Linked DNA regions of Homo sapiens: regions 1 and 2 are each linked to region 3. Evidence: promoter capture Hi-C in 16 types of primary human blood cells and fetal thymus (Javierre and others, 2016). All regions are on one chromosome and are shown on one strand. The core of a region is centred on a gene start or on the middle of the fragment in contact, and the rest is flanking DNA. Distances in the headings are between cores, read along the strand shown. Region 1 overlaps LOC105374211 (a long non-coding RNA gene). Region 2 overlaps LOC105374211 (a long non-coding RNA gene). Region 3 holds the start of PRKCI (protein kinase C iota).

Region 1 (2,700 bases), core at 198-2,697, 610 kb after region 3:
AATATGCACTTAAGTTTTCTCCAAGTCTTTTTATGGCTTAACATTAGGTTGGTGCAAAAGTAATTGTGGGTTTTGCCATTAACCATATAAATAATGTCAAACATCGCGATTACTTTTGCACCAACCTGATAGCTCATTTGAATGGAATGATATTCCACTGTCTGCATCTACTGCAGTTTATTTGTCCATTCACCTGCTGAAGGGCATCTTGGTTACTTCCAAAGTTTAGCAATTATGAAAAAAACTGCTATAAACATTCATATGCAGGTTTCTGTCTAGACATAAGTTTTTAACTCCTTTAGGTAAATACCAGGGAGCATGATTGCTAGATTGTATGGTAAGAGTACACTTAGTTTTGTAAAAATTTGGCAAATTGTCTTCCAAAGTGGCTGTACCATTTTGCATTGCCATCAGCAATAAATGAGAGTTTTTATTGCTCCACATCCTCACCAGCATTTGGTGTTCTGGATTTTGGCCATTCTCATAGATGTGTTATGTTCAGCAGTCTGTTTTAACAAACCCTCAAGGTGATTCTGGTGCACTAAACATTGAAAACCATGACTGTGGACAGATCTTCTCTCATAGAAGTAGCCCTCCCAGCTGGTCCTGATTCAATCTGCTGACCTTGTAATGAAACAGAATAAAGAGGAGGACAATGGGGAGGAAAGCAGTGTTTATTGAGCGACCACAACATGCCAGGCACTGTATCATTATAATTTCATTTTATTCTTCCATAGAAGCTAAGAAATTTTTACTCTTGTCCCCATTTTAAAGATTTTTTGAAATGAGATTCCAAGCCATAGTAATGTTTAAGCTTACAGACCTACTAAGTAGTGAGTTCACATTAGGGAATTTGAAAAGTACAAAAGTTATAAAGAAGAATATAGGAATTACCCACAACCCCATTCAAAACAACATTATTATTTAGTGTAAGTCCTCACAGTATTTTTTTTTTCCTGTGTAAAACTCCTTTGGATTTCAGGCTGCTCTGTGGTCTCTCATAGAATTTAGGCTCCAGAGTGGGTCCTTTGCTCTGAGATCTGAAGACCTAGGAACTAATGCCTCCACCTTCAGCTTTGTTCTAATCTCTCCTAAAAGCAAGTATCTAGATCCTTTTATTCTCCCTACATCCCTACATTTGATAATATACAGAAGCAAGAGCTTAGTAAATCAAACAAGTGAGCTGAAGTAGGTGCTGAAAGTTGACCTAAAACAAACTGGGAGCTAAGACTCTACTCCAAGACAGAACAGAAATGGACTTGGAGCCAGATATAGAACAAGTTATTTATGCTCAGTTCTCTAGGAAAAGGATGGAGGCTTGTTCTGAGATGTGTGCATCTTGTGCTGGGGGCTGGAGGGAGCTGCTGTTCCTGGAACACTCTGCAAGTGTCTGTTCTGGGAGGGGCATCATGGTCGCTGCATCCCAAGCCAGGCATATTGTGCATCAGAGTCAACGAATGGAAGTCATCAGAATTCTGGATGACACTCTGTGATGCTTGGATGGTTCTCTACTTAACCCCCTGTGGAGGCTGCTGTGTATCTGTTTCATGCCAGACTCGGAGAAAATAGTAAAGATAAAAGACAGAAGGCTTATAGCTGTTTTCATAAAGTGTTTGTTTTCCTTGCTGTTAAGACCACTTGTCCAAGTGAATCATTTGGGGTTATATTTTACTAAAGCACCTCAAAAAAAGCCAAAATATTTTTAGAATCTATAGCTGTGGGTGATCCAAACATAATGAGCTTCCTCCTTCTGAAAAAAAAAAAAAAAAAAAAAAAAAACAGAAAGAAAAGAAAAAAGGAAAGCCTAGGTTTTTTTTCCTCCAACCCTGCCTCTGAGTTTGAAACCTACAAGCAATTGCTGCCCCTCCCTCCCAAACCCTTAGTTTTTACCCAACATAAAATGAAAATGAAGATAACATGGAAGGATTTCATGACAGAGATGTGTCATATTCAGGCTGTGGATAATTGAAATTTACGATTAACAATTTTGTCAGAAGAATGCCTTTTAGTCCCCGGGGTCCTTTATTGTGTATGCTAATAGGACAATTTAGGATAAAGACAGGGAGTGGGTTATAAAGAGAAAAGCTTCATTATGTAAGTTAAGGAGTAATACAACGCATTCACTAATGAGAAGTTTTAACATATTTTACTTATCTACATTTGAACAGACAATACATTCATATAGTTCAAAACTCAGGCTGGGTGCATTGGCTCACGCCTGTAATCGCAGCAGTTTAGGAGGCCAAGGCAGGTGGATCACCTGAGGTCAGGGGTTTGAGACCAGCCTGGTCAACATGATGAAACCCCATCTCTACTTAAGAAAAAAAAAAAAAATTAGCCAGGCATGGTGGTGCGCACCTGTCATCCCAGATATTCGGGAGGCTGGGGCAGGAGAATCGCTTGAACCTGGGAGGTGGAGGTTGCAGTGAGTCGAGATCACACCACTGCACTCCAGCCTGGCGACAGAGGGAGACTCTGTCTTAAAAAAAAAAAAAAAAAAAAAAAATCAAACTGTATGAAAGGATAGGGAATGAAAAGAACCCTTTCACATCCTTGTTCTTCACCCCCAGCTTTCCTGAGGCCATGAGAGCTACCAGAGTGTTTGGTATGCTGTCAGATGTGTGCTATGGATAAACCAGCAACACACACATATTCTTATACTCTGTTTTTTAATGCAAATGGCAACATTCACTACACTTT
Region 2 (2,700 bases), core at 61-2,560, 590 kb after region 3:
AAGCCAGTTACAATGGCTGGAAGACCTTAGAGGAAAGGAGGCCCCGGGAACATGGGGACTAACAGCAAATCCTGGTACTGGCCACAAGCCACAAATTTGTGTAGGGGTAGGGAAGAGGATAGGGGATGGCTGGAGCCTGAGACCTGGTGTTTCCTATGATCAGTGCACCTAGCTTGATGACTCATGTTCTTCTAGCTTTTGGCAGCCTAGACTGGTATGTCACTGAAATTTAAAAGCTCCCTGAAATATAGGCAGCATTTTCTCTCCAGCTGTATTTTGAAAAGATGACACAATTTGGATGCAACCTTGTTTTCCAACCTGAAGCAATATTCAGACAGTGTGTTGATGTTTTTAAGTCAGTAGGTGTGTCTGTTTAGTATGTGTGTGCATGCGCGTAAAACGCTCTCCCTCGTGATGCAAAACATGCCCTTTTTCTAATGCCCACGAAAGAAAGTTATCTTAAAGTGAACAATTATTTGTTTGGGATGTCACACTCCAGAACTCTCCACCAGCTAGTCTATTGGGCCCGCTAGCTTCACAGAAGTCAAGGCCAGGTTAATGCATACTATATTATTAGCGAAATAACTAGGTCTTTAACACCTCTCCCTCCAAAAAACAAACACACAAAACAGCTTTAACTTTCATCCCTCTCCAATACCACACTGAATGCCCCACCCTAAGCCATAGCCCTATAACCTCCTCCTCCCCTCTCCTCTTCTGAATGAGAAACCATGAGTGCCCCCTAGTGGTTCAATGGCCGTAATTGCACTCCCCAGCTTTTTGTTTGCCTAATTACTAAGTTTTACCAGCAGGGTTGCAGCCAAGTTCAAGTGTCAAGTTCAAGAACATTTTTGTACTGCCATGTGGTGATTCTGTTGCAGCTAATAAAGAGCTTAAAAGTCTTTGGGTCTGTGAAGCATAATCTCAGCTTTTTCTGTTTGGCGGATCTTCTTAGGTTCTCCTTGGTTCTGCACAGCTGATAATGTGAGAGGGGTTGCTGCTCTCCTCTTGCCGCAACCCCCACCCCAGGCCTTCTCACTCCCAAAACCTACCAAAACGTACCAAGCTGCCTCTTTGAATCTGCTGGCGTGGTAAGGGGAATGGTGTGGCGCATGTGAAAGAGATTGTCCCAAATGGGCAGAACCTTGGGACCCCAGCAAAATCCTGTGTTTAAGTTCTGGCCCAATTGCCAAAGTTCATCCCCAGTTCTTGTTTCAGACTAGCTCAGAAATTCGTCTCATTGATCCCTTTAAGGGCTTTTGTATGCGACTCTGCCACATCAAGAAAATAGCTCTACTACCACCCACTCAGAATATTTGCAGAATTTGCTTTCTTGAGATACGATCATAGCAAAAGCCATGCAGGAATCCCCACTTACCACAGAGGTCCATTTCCAGACATCTCATTGTGACCCCACTCCTCTGATGGCTGCAGACTCAGTCCCCAGAGGAGGAGCTCCTTGAGGCAGGGGTTGAAACATTTTTATAAATTATTATCCCCAGCATGTGGCACAGGGCCCAACATGTAGTAGGTGATCACAAAATTTTCTGTCAGGGAAAGCGTTAAAGTACTGAACTACTCTCCCAGTCCCCAAGCCCATTCTGATGTTAAACTCCTAATTCCCAATGTGACTGTTTTTGGAGTTCAAGCCTTTAGGGAGGTAATTAAGATTAAGTGAGGTCCTAAGGGTTGGTCTATAATCTGAAGGACTGGGGTTCTTATAGGAAGGAGAAGAGACACCAGAAATTTCTTTCCTTGCGTGCTCACAGAAAAAGGGTTATGTGAGGACACAGGAATAAAGTGGCTGTCTACAAAGAACAGGAAGAGAGGCCTTACCAGAAACCAACCTGATCACACCATGATCTTGGACTTCCAACCTCCAGAACTGTGAGAAAACACATTTCTGTTGTTTAAGCCATCCAGTCTCTGGTATTTTGTTAATGGCAGCCCTAGCAAACTAATACAGAAAGGGAAGCTCTTTAATGAGATTCCTGCAACCAGACCATGGCACAGTTCTAAATTCCAAAGAAGGAGGGAGGACAGACACTAACACGTGTTGAGAGCTGACGGATGTGGCAGCACTGAAGCAGCTGTTCCTGGAAATTCACCAGTTGTCTTCTGATCTAAAAACACTCCTGGGGAAGCTCGTGAATACCCACGGGTGAAGTGTTTTCCCCTGTACTATTCTCCCTACTAGCCATTCCCCAGTGCCTGGCTTTCAGTGATCTCTGGGTATGTGAACTCGAAACCAGCATTTCAGTAGGGAAGATGTAGTCAGGCAGAAGAACGTGCTCCTGTCTACCCAAGTGATGCTCCTAAGTGTCTCCATGAATGTCTATGAGTACCCAGGAATGAATGTTGTGTTTCTCATCCTGCATTGGATTTTACAGCCTTCATTAAATTTTGACCAACAAAATTGAGTGAGAAAAATCAGGCTTCCTGCAAGGAATGAGCTAAAACCAGTGTCGGGTTCTCACTGTGAACCTTGCATTTCCCTTTAATAACAGACATCAGACCACCTGCAAAAACATTACGTCTCACTAAGCCAGGTAAGAGTGAAACTAGAGAAAAGTAGAGGAAATGCCTTAAGTCAAAGTTTTGATTTGTAAATCTTAGAGGAGGACATGAAGCCCATGGATAAGCAATAGACTGGAAGAGTACAAAATGATACAAGAGGCAGTTTGCCTACCCCAGAGGAAC
Region 3 (2,700 bases), core at 37-2,536:
ACCAGGACTGCTGCAGGGGCTGGATTCATGCTACCTGTAGTTGCAGTGTAAATTATGTGTCAGAGCCAAGATCCTAGGAAAGTCAAAGACTAGGTTACAAGAGCGATTCTTTTTTTTTTTTTTTTTTTTTTTTTTTGAGACAGAGTCTTGCTCTGTCGCCCAGGCTGGAGTGCAGTGGCACAGTCTTGGCTCACTGCAACCTCCGCCTCCCTGGTTCACGCCATTCTCCTGCCTTAGCCTCCCGAGTAGCTGGGACTACAGGCGCCCGCCACCACGCCCGGCTAATTTTTTGTGTTTTTAGTAGAGACGGGGTTTCACCGTGTTAGCCAGGATGGTCTCGATCTCCTGACCTTGTGATCCGCCCGCCTCGGCCTCCCAAAGTGCTGGGATTACAGGCTTGAGCCACCGCGCCCGGCCAAGGACGATTCTTTCTAATCTTTGGTAAGCCAGTTTTTACAGAATGAAATGCTCTTGGATTGACTGACTTGATTGGGTAAGTATTCATTGGGCTCTTGTTCCATGCAAGGGCAGTCTACAAGGGCCTAGATATGGGGGCCCCCAAAGAAGAAAAATCGGTTTTTCATCATATTTTCTGGTTGAGTTTCTTCCTTTATTATATTTGTTACATATGTTATTAAATTATTTCCATAAAAGAGGTTATGCTGAGCAGGTAACCAAATTCTTGTTCCCCCAAAAGACATGTATAATTCAGACGATTTATGCAATTAGAAGAAGGGAGACTTCATCAGTTAATAAAGTCTAGAACGTGAGGAAGCCCAGTCATTTCCAGGACCTTCAGATGCCCAAGCTGGATCCAGGTTTTCCACCCCGACAGCTCCAGGGAGCACGCTGGAGAGACAGACTTCACCAGCGGGAAGGCGCGGCACCCTACGCGCAAGGAACCTCAAGTCCCAGAATCCTATGAGGACTCCAAATCCCAGAAACCTGCACGCAAATCTATCCCGGGTGCCAAGTCGGCCGACCGCAGACGTGACCAAGTTGCGAGGCTAGGGTGAGGTGTCGTAGAATTTGTCCCTACCATTGTCCCTGCAGGGAAGAGACTTTAGTGATCTAGAGCTGGTCATTGTCTCTTTCACAGCTCGCGTGAAAGCACCCCTCTCGGCGTGTTTGATGCCATGATCAGCGTCTCCCATTCCCTCTGTCCCCTTTCTCTGCCCCCGTAAGGATGGTTCAGCCCGGTATTGAGGCTCCTTGAGCTGGCTGGATGGTTGCGCCCGCCCTACCCCGGAATGTGGGCCTTTGGAGCGAGCGAAGTGGGAGGGACCGACGCAGGAGGTGTCTTGGGCCCGGGCGGCTGTAGAGGCGGCGGCGCCTACGGGCAGTGGGAGGAGCCGCGCGGTTCCGGCTGCTCCGGCGAGGCGACCCTTGGGTCGGCGCTGCGGGCGAGGTGGGCAGGTAGGTGGGCGGACGGCCGCGGTTCTCCGGCAAGCGCAGGCGGCGGAGTCCCCCACGGCGCCCGAAGCGCCCCCCCGCACCCCCGGCCTCCAGCGTTGAGGCGGGGGAGTGAGGAGATGCCGACCCAGAGGGACAGCAGCACCATGTCCCACACGGTCGCAGGCGGCGGCAGCGGGGACCATTCCCACCAGGTCCGGGTGAAAGCCTACTACCGCGGGTGAGTGTCCTGGGACAGGGCGGTGGGCGGGAGGGGACAGGCCGGCTCCACTCGGCCTGGAGGAGGGGAGGGTGAGGGGCTGGAGGTGTTGTGGGCGGATTGGGCTGGGCGGGCGGGCGGCTCCGGTGACTCAGGGTGAGTGACGAAGTGATAGGGGTGGGGGCGAAGCAAGGGGATGCAGTACTGGGGGCGCCCCCAGGTATGGCGGTGCGGGGAGCCGAGGGGCCAGAGTAGGGTCCGAGAAGGAAGCTAGGGTTAGAGTAGGTGCACCTGGTGTGGACGAGAGACTCGCCTCCTGAGAGCTTTGTAGGGGCCTTGCATCCTTAAGTCTGGGTGTATTTGGGGTTGCGAGTTGAGGATTCCAAGTGATGCCTTAGTTAACTCAGTTTGCTGTGGGGATAGAAAACGGGACTTCTTCAGTTAGCTGTCCGTTTTGATTACCAGCAGGCCTAACGCCTCTGGTTCTCTGAGATATACCTCCATCCCCGTTGTGTTCACGTAGTGTATCTGCACTGCCAGTATATTAGACATAGGGGTTGTATTTAAGAATCAAGTCGATGCGTTTTCAGGGACGTGCAGTGGGTACTTACGTGTCGTCAAGATTAAGTTGCATGTGTGTAAATCAAAATTTTGTGAGCCTTTCTTTCTCAGTGTTGTTTCAACGACTACCCGATAGGGTGAGATACTGCAAGGTGAGGAGACTAGCCTAGTTACAGTTTTAAATTCTCTGATCTTCACTCCCTTACTATGGTTACAAGAAAAAACCCAGTTCTAAGTTCATTGTGTTAAATCATTTTCTATCAGTGACGCAAAGTGCCCCCCTTCCTTTAAATTCAGTTGTGGTTTGAATTTTTTTTTGAGATAATTATGTTTAGGAGCATTAGAAACGTGAAATGTTAGTGTGACCATAAAGGTTGGAGACTGAGAAGTCACAGAAAACCCAGCTACTTTGGCTTGCCTTACTGCTTGTCCAGGTAGAAGTAAATTGCTTTAAAAAACTCAAGCAGTGCTAGGTTGAAATTTTAATGCATACTTTTACATTCCTGAGAGGATCAGTGAAGATAGCA

Evidence for each region. Contacts are between HindIII fragments. The CHiCAGO score rates a contact against its expected background, and 5 or more counts as called.
Region 1: a contact is called between a fragment that was not itself captured here and the fragment with the promoter of PRKCI in region 3, in 1 of 17 cell types (erythroblasts). The highest score is 5.1, in erythroblasts.
Region 2: a contact is called between a fragment that was not itself captured here and the fragment with the promoter of PRKCI in region 3, in 1 of 17 cell types (naive CD8 T cells). The highest score is 5.2, in naive CD8 T cells.

The regions. Positions count from the first base shown.
Region 1 is chr3:170,834,099-170,836,798 of GRCh38, forward strand. The region is part of intron 2 of LOC105374211 (a long non-coding RNA gene); the gene reads left to right. Among named protein-coding and RNA genes, the nearest start is that of RPL22L1, 35 kb to the right of the region's middle. RefSeq lists an enhancer at 1,205-1,768. The HindIII fragment of the contact is 1,271 bases long and covers 813-2,083 here.
Region 2 is chr3:170,811,411-170,814,110 of GRCh38, forward strand. The region is part of intron 2 of LOC105374211 (a long non-coding RNA gene); the gene reads left to right. Among named protein-coding and RNA genes, the nearest start is that of RPL22L1, 57 kb to the right of the region's middle. The HindIII fragment of the contact is 3,060 bases long and covers 1-2,700 here.
Region 3 is chr3:170,221,138-170,223,837 of GRCh38, forward strand. It overlaps PRKCI (protein kinase C iota), which reads left to right and starts at 1,287. Exons shown (of 18, transcript NM_002740.6): 1 at 1,287-1,633. The coding sequence starts at 1,533. RefSeq lists enhancers at 818-877, 948-1,007, 1,018-1,177 and a silencer at 1,358-1,647. The HindIII fragment of the contact is 16,903 bases long and covers 1-2,700 here.